2 separate regions of the Homo sapiens genome follow, and region 1 is linked to region 2. The links are contacts of gene promoters, found by promoter capture Hi-C in human tissues and cell types (Jung and others, 2019). All regions are on one chromosome and are shown on one strand. The core of a region is centred on a gene start or on the middle of the fragment in contact, and the rest is flanking DNA. Distances in the headings are between cores, read along the strand shown. Region 1 has its middle 6.2 kb from the start of OR5C1. Region 2 holds the start of RBM18 (RNA binding motif protein 18).

Evidence for each region. Contacts are between HindIII fragments. The study calls those that stand out against the background at their distance.
Region 1: a fragment that was not itself captured here is called in contact with the fragment with the promoter of RBM18 in region 2 in 1 of the 25 tissues and cell types used here (thymus).

What each region holds. Positions count from the first base shown.
Region 1 is chr9:122,780,838-122,784,594 of GRCh38, reverse strand. No RefSeq gene overlaps it. Among named protein-coding and RNA genes, the nearest start is that of OR5C1, 6.2 kb to the left of the region's middle. The HindIII fragment of the contact is 9,163 bases long and covers 1-3,757 here.
Region 2 is chr9:122,262,964-122,266,864 of GRCh38, reverse strand. RBM18 (RNA binding motif protein 18) reads left to right here and starts at 2,025. Exons shown (of 6, transcript NM_033117.4): 1 at 2,025-2,150. It overlaps MRRF (mitochondrial ribosome recycling factor), which reads right to left and starts at 1,983. Exons shown (of 7, transcript NM_138777.5): 1 at 1,927-1,983. RefSeq lists enhancers at 1,566-1,725, 901-1,871, 1,294-2,493, 1,872-2,843. The HindIII fragment of the contact is 4,734 bases long and covers 1-3,391 here.

The DNA.
Region 1 (3,757 bases), core at 624-3,123, 520 kb before region 2:
CCCACAAACTTCAGTTAAGTAGGTATTGTGGAGTGTGTGTGTTTGCACACACAAAACATAGAATTAATTCTCCATTAACGTCTCTCTCTCTCGCCTCACTACCCAGGAGGAGCAATATTGACGTTCTAGGGTTGTGTACGTCAGTGTGGGACTTGCTAATAAAAGAGGAGGACTCAGGTTTTCATAAGGAGCAACTTCTGCGTTTGCTCTTCGGTGCTAATCAGTGCTAGAAAGGATCTGGAAAACTTCAGGTTCCTGCACTTTTAGGTTCCCGGTTGCCTCTAGTTGACTCTCTTGTCTTTTCAAATCCTTCCAACATTCCTACTTCTGTCTGACTCCGTATTTATCTTTCAGTCCCTGGGATTAAAGCTTATGAAGTCTGTCTATGTATATATTTATGTATGCATGTATGTATGTATGTATTTATCAATCTATCAATCACTTAAATATCAATCCATTTTTAATTATATACTCAACAAGCATTTTTTAACTACCTGTTATGGGACAGGCACTCTATGAGCACAAGGGATACAGATGTCACTATAACACATCTGTTACTGCTCTCACAGAACTTTCAGGCTGGTGGGAAGAGAGAGCTCTCAATCAAATAACCACACACATACAATTACAAACTAACATATATATGATCTGAAGGAGAGGAACACATTTCTCTCTTTCTCCTCAGCTTACTGAATGGCATATGATGCCAATCAATGGAGTGATTGGTAGGCCATTGATTGATTGATGATTGCATGAACAATCTCATTTGATACCTATCACATCCTTATGAAGCAGATACTTTTATATCTACTCATAGATGAAGAAATCCAAGCCCAGAGAAGCATCTTTTACTTTTGAGGGTGATTGTTCCCACCCTCTCCCTTTGTTCCCACCCTCTCCTTTTGGCCCAACAGTGGGCCGCCCACCTGTTGTGCCTCTGCAGTACCCTTGTGCTGGTCCACTTCACTCCAAGGACTGCCATGTCCCTGGTCCAAGCCCCACTCATGTGATCATGAGTGAGCTTCCCAGCTGGTCTCCATGCTGACCACATCTTCCCCTCTCCACTGTGCTTCTCAAGCCTTGTCTAAGCATTTTACTCTGACTGTGCATTAGATAACTCCAAACACTTTGCCAAGGGTCTCCACAAAAACAGTTTTCTAATATTGTTTCTTCTATGCAAGCCTTTGCCCTAGTCCTATCTCCTTATTATTCACTCTTCTCCCCTGTCTTTGATGCTAGGCCTACTTATTACTATCTTTTGAAATTATTTCCCCTGTCTAGAATCCCTTTTTTCCTCTTCTTCCCTGTATTAGTTTGTTCTCATGCTGCTATAAAGAACTGGCCAAGACTAAGTAATTTATAAAGGAGAGAGGTTTAATTGACTTACAGTTCCACATGGCTGGGGAGGCTTCAGGAAACTTACAGTCATGGCAGAAGGGGAAGAAAACATGTCTTTCTTCACATGATTGCAGGACGGAGAAGTGCCAAGCAAAAGGGGAAAAAGCCCCTTATAAAACAATCAGATCTCGGCCTGGAGCAGTGGCTCACACCTATGATCCCAGCACTTTGGGAGGCTGAGGCAGGCAGATCACGAGGTCAGGAGATTGAGACCATCTTGACTAACATGGTGAAACCCCTTCTCCACTAAAAATACAAAAAAAAAAAAAAAAAAATTAGCCAGGCGTGGTGGCAGGCGCCTGTAGTCCCAGCTACTTGGGAGGCTGAGGCAGGAGAATGGTGTGAACCCAGGAGGCGGAGCTTGCAGTGAGCCGAGATCACGCCACTGCACTCCAGCCTGGGCGACAGAGCAAGACTCCATCTCAAAAAAAAAAAAAAAAAAAAAAAATCAGATCTCATGAAAACTCACTATCACGAGAACAGTAGCATGAGGGTAACCGCCCCCATGATTGCATTACCTCCCACCAGGTCCCTCCTATGACACGTGGGGATTATGGGAACTACAATTCAAGATGAGATTTGGGCGGAGACACAGCCAAACCATATTGTTCCCCTATTCAAGTTCCTAGCTAACACTTTTTTTTTTTTTTTTTTTTTTTGAGATGGAGTCTCGCTCTGTCACCTAGGCTGGAGTACAATGGCATGAACTCTGCTCACTGCAACTGCCACCTCCCAGGTTCAAGCAGTTCTCCTGCCTCAGCCTCCTGAGTTACTGAGATTACAGTCACGAACCACCAGACCTAGCTAATTTTTGTATTTTTTGTAGAAACGGGATTTCACCATGTTGGCCAGGCTGGTCTTGAACTCCTGACCTCAGGTGATCCACCTGCCTCAGCCTCCCAAAGTGCTGGGATTACAGGCATGAGCTACTGCACCCAGCCCCTAGCTAACATTTAAGCCCGATTTAATTTGTGTCTTCTCTGTGAATCTATACCCAGCCATTGCAATCTACTTTGGCTTAATATTAAGGGACTTGTGATGTTTTCTGCCACAGTATCACTTTAGTTTCATGCATTCACCACCCCAAGAGGTATTCACTCTTAAAATAAGTTGGATTCTGCAGTCGAACATAGGCTGCCATCAAATGGAGTGGTTATAACACAGTCTCATTGGTTGGAGCCATTAGGAGAGAGATGGAGTTTGTATTAAAGATGATGCTATGACCCCATCCTGTGAGCAAGGCAGACATGGCTAGTCAGTCGTGCTACTCATTCTTACTGAACTCGGACTAGCCTTAGAATCCTTCTTATCTCAGTGCTTGTGGAAGTCACTGCCTGAGGGCTGGGGTTTGTAGGAGAGGTGAAGCATCTTTGTTATCCTTTGGTTAGGTGCATGTCTTCTCTGCAATTCAAACTCCCCTATTTCAATCCTGAGTTTTTCATAACATTTCCCAATGAAAAAAATCTTTAAAAATTAAATTTAATGTTAATAATAAATATGAGTACATCGTTAGAAGTTAGTGTTTTCTACTTTGCTCTCTTTTTGTTATTTATTTTTAGGAGCAATATAATGCACTGTAAAAAATTCAAGAGGCACCAAAGGGTATTTAATAAAAAACAACTCTTCCTCCCACCTTGCTTCTGAGTCCTCTATTCCTGCTCTCTAGAGGGGACAGCTGCTAGCAGTTTCTTGTGTATCCTTCCAGAATTACTTTATAAATGCACAGACATATATGTATATATTTATTTTAAAACTTGTATGTTAGCATATAAATGGAAATGCTAAGTCAAAGAGTATATGTACTTCATTTTGTAGATACTATCAAATTGCTCTTAAATAATGATATACTAATTTATATTTCCACTAGCAATACATAAGAGTACATGCTTTCCAACATTCTCCATAATACTGTTTTCAGACTTTTTGATCTTTGCCTAATGATATATAAAAGTACCTCACTGTAGCCTTAATTTACATTTATCTTATTATGAATGAGAATGAACATTATTTAATAAACTTAAGAATCACTTGTGTTTCTTTTGTGAATTCTCTGTTCACATTCTTTGCCAATTATCTGTTGAATTTTTGGTCTTTGTTGCTATTAATTAATTTATTATTATTATTATTTTTGAGATGGAGTCTCTCTCTGTCACCCAGGCTGGAGTGCAGTGGTGTGATCTTGGCTCACTGCAGCCTCCACTTCCTGGGTTCAAGCGATTTTCATGCCTCAGCCTCCTGAGTAGCGGGGACTACAGACACATCCCACCACGCACAGCTAACTTTTACATTTTTCGTAGAGATAGAGTTTCGCCATTTTGGCTAGGCTAGTCTCAAACTCCTGACCTCAGGTAATCTACCT
Region 2 (3,901 bases), core at 776-3,275:
CCTGACCTCGTGATCCGCCCGCCTGGGCCTCCCAATGTGCTGAGATTACAGACTGAAATATTTTTTTAAACTACTTGAAGCACACATTCTTTTTCCAAAGTTGAGGGTCTCAAACGATTTCCCTGTTCTTCACAGAAGGTTCATTTTAATTTTGGCTAGATGACCAACCCAAAATCCTGGCTTATCTACTGTCCCAGCAACTCTTTTCAATGCAGCTGTATACTAGCTTATAACATAAGCACTTCTATGAGTGTGCATATACGCAGGCTCTTGCATATAAAATACTTTCACATGTACCATCTTAACTGGTTCTCATAACTAAAGAGTGATAATCACCACCCGTATTTTGCAAAATAAGAAAAGTGATCTTTCACTTCTCCAGGGCTCCCCCTGCTCCAGGGTCTTCAAACATGCCATTGAATCTCCTTGATGATCTTCCCTCACCTCTTTAACTGTTTGTCTCCGTTTTTATTTCAGATTTCAGCTTAACCATCACTTCCTCAGAGGACGGCTTCCTTGGCCATCTCCTACAGCCCAACTAGGTCAAGTGTCCTGTAGTCTGCTTTCATAGCACCCTTTACTTCATCATAGCACTTAATTCTTAACAATACAAGCTAACATTTGTGTAATTATTTGATTGTCTAATTCCCTCCATATGACTCTAAGTACTACAAGGACTAATCTATGATTTTCTTGTTCACTGCTGTATCCCCAGTACCTGGTACATTGCCAGAACACAGAAGACACTGTGAATGTGATGAATACATCAGTGAAAGTCCAGAAAGATAAATTCCTTATCCAGGGTAAACCAGAATCGGATGGGAATCTACCCTTACTATTATGGTAGGTTCTGGGCTTCCCAGCGTTGCCTCCACTGTCTCTGGTTTGCCAGATTTTTGCTTAGAGATAGTAGATGATGTTCTTCTCTAAATGCAGTACCAGGTAAAGAAAGGTACTTGTAGTATCTGACTATACACAGAATCATTATGCACCTGGCACGGCCAAAGAAGGAATGAGACACTTTAACAGGTAGAGAAAGGGCTTTTGCCTAAGAGTTAAGAGATCTGGATTCCAGTATGCCTACCTTATCACTCCCTGCCATCTGCCATTTAGATTCATAATCACACGTATTCAAAAAGCATTTGCGGCAGCTCTACCACTGACTTGTGACTTGTACCAAGTGATTTCTCCTACGTAGATTTTGTTTCAACCATAAAATGAAGGGGTCAGATCAGGTTTTCATTCTTTCCAACTATAAAGCTTTCCAAAATGGGGGGAAATGCAACAGTGTGGTTTAAAACAAAATAAAGGCACTAAACTTAGAGAAAACTCCGAGTCTTGGTTCCAGCACTTCCTAGGCACGTGACCTTAAATCGGTCAAACTCTCAGGACTTCCGTCTCATCTGTAAAACGTAAATGACAATACTATTTGTCAGGGTTAAGTAAATGGAGAAGGGCTACTGAAATGACAACTGTTTTGCCACTGGGTGGCACAGAGTGGTGGTTAAAAGTCCAGGCTTAGGAGTCGGATAGCCCTAGGTCTGAATTTAAGCGCCCTCACTTTCTGACCGCGTGACCCTGGTAAAATTACCTATGTGAGCTTCCGTTTCTTCATTATGGGAGATAATAATATCTACTCCTATGGGATTGTTCTGAAACTCAAACGTTCCCGTCAAGTGTGCGGCTACTCTTTAGTAAGTTCCTCCAGCATCCCCTAAATTCCTAGCTGGTAAAAGGAGCCCCGCCCCCACCCCATGAGACTCGCTCCAATGCCACAGGTCCCGCCCTCAGCCTTAAAGGTCAAGCTGGACTCGAACGGGTCGGGGACGGTAGTCTGGTCCCCTGAGGTCCCCCAGAGGTCCCTGAGTAAGGGTCTCTGGCACCCAGACCACACGCGCCCCTCGAGGCCCTGTCAAGGACACTCACCAGCTATCGCCCAGGTTACTAAGGAAAGACTCGTGCGACGGCGGCGACCGCAGCTGCGCGGACGTCGTGACGTCACGAAGCCAGGAGGCGGCGCAGGCTTAACGCGTCACGGGCGGCCTGGCAGCTGGCGGCATTGAGGCGGACGCGTCTAGAGGTCCGTCTGACCGCGGCGTCGGGACCTGGTTTCCGGGCATGAGCTGAGAGCACCACGCCGAGGCCACGAGGTGAGTTCGGCCGCGACATGTCCCTGCACCTCAGCGATGGGCCCGCTAAGAGGTCTTACAGGAGGCCGCCCTCGCAGGACTGCATCTCAGGCCCCGCCCCGGATTGTCCTGTCGCTGGCCCGGAAATAACAATCCGAGTAATGACCCTTCGCCTGTAGGAATTCGCAGCCAGAAATCGGGAAGCCAGGGTTCCAGGCATGACCCCACCGCTTGCTGTTAGGATCAGGTGTCTCTTCTTCTCTGGATTGCACTTTCCCCAGATGACTATTTCTGGCTTCCAGAGTTATTGCAGCTCAGCTGGAAAGACAAATGTAACCGCGTTTTGTGAACTCTGGTAGTCTAAAGGATTGTTGCTATTGCAAACGCAAAGCATTTTGATAGTCCCGTGCCGTCTTGATCTTTTATTACCCTTTACCTTTCCTCAAAAAGCCATATTCTGAGCTGTCACCAAAATTGTCTTATTTAAGACTCACAACGACCTCGTGAGACGACAAATTGTACCCATTCTAGGAAGGAAAAAGAAACTAAGTCTTCGAGTGGAGAAGCGGCTTGCTTCATTTAGTAAATATTAAGCACCAACCGTGAGACAGGCAGTGTACTTAAGTGCTAGAAATAGAACCGTGATCAAGATTGGCAAGGTCCTGTGCTGTGGGAGCTTACGTTCTAGTGAAGGAAATAGAAGAGGAAACATTAAGTAATACATTGAATTAGCATTTAGTAGGAGGAAAAAGATGGAAAAGTGGCTATGATATAGAATAACAAGGAACTCTGTTTAGGAAAGCTTTTCTATCGAGAGGATGCTTAAAGAAAGGTCATGTGACTTGCTAAAGGTGCAGTTACTAGGTGCAAAAGTCAGGATTTGAACCCAGACCCGCATAGCCTGCACTCTTACCAGTAAAACATGGTACCTTTTCGTGGTAATAAATATTAATAGCTATTGGTATTATTCCTGATTTTAGACATGAGAAAATCAGAATGTCCTATCATTCAAGTCCCAAATGTCATCTCCTTTAGAGAGGCCTTCCCTCCACTCAATCTATAGTCGTCGAGTCCCTGTCACATCACCCTGCTTAATTGTGTTTGTGGCATGTATCACTAATTATATCTTCTTTATTTATTTTGCTTTTGTTTTGTCCTGCTCCCCTTCCAAATACAAGCATCCAGAGGATAGGGACCTTGCTTGTTCACTGCTCTGACTCCAGTAACTGGATAAGTCCTAGATAATAGAAGCAGTGAATTTATTTTTTGAATGAATGATTTGTTTAAAAAGTAGGGGGAAAGGAAAGCAGAGGGAAGACAAAAATGTGTCTCCCCTGGGATTAAATTTATGTCTGTTTCACCTTTCTCCCAGGAGGTAAGAACAAGAGCTGTGGCTTTTTCATTTGTCTATTTCAGTACATAGCCCAGAGTTTAACAGTTCCTAGTTGCTTGACTTACATTGCTGAACAGATTAAAGATGTGAATGGGAAAGGAAGAAAAATACCCTCATGTGCAGGGTATTCAATAAACAATTACCTAGGGACTGCTGTGCTAGACTTTACAGGGTGTGCTGAGATGATTAAGAGGTAATGGCAGTTGTTGTGACTGCCTCCATGGTTCCTGTAGTGCTGACCTCTGAGGTACTTCTGGGTATAGGATATGTGTTCTCTAGCAGGGACTTCTGAACTCTGACACAGCCTGCTGTCCTCCCAGCCCCTAAAGCTTTATTTCACATCTGTCGTCTCATTTTTGGTCCTCGAAGCCTTAAGTTA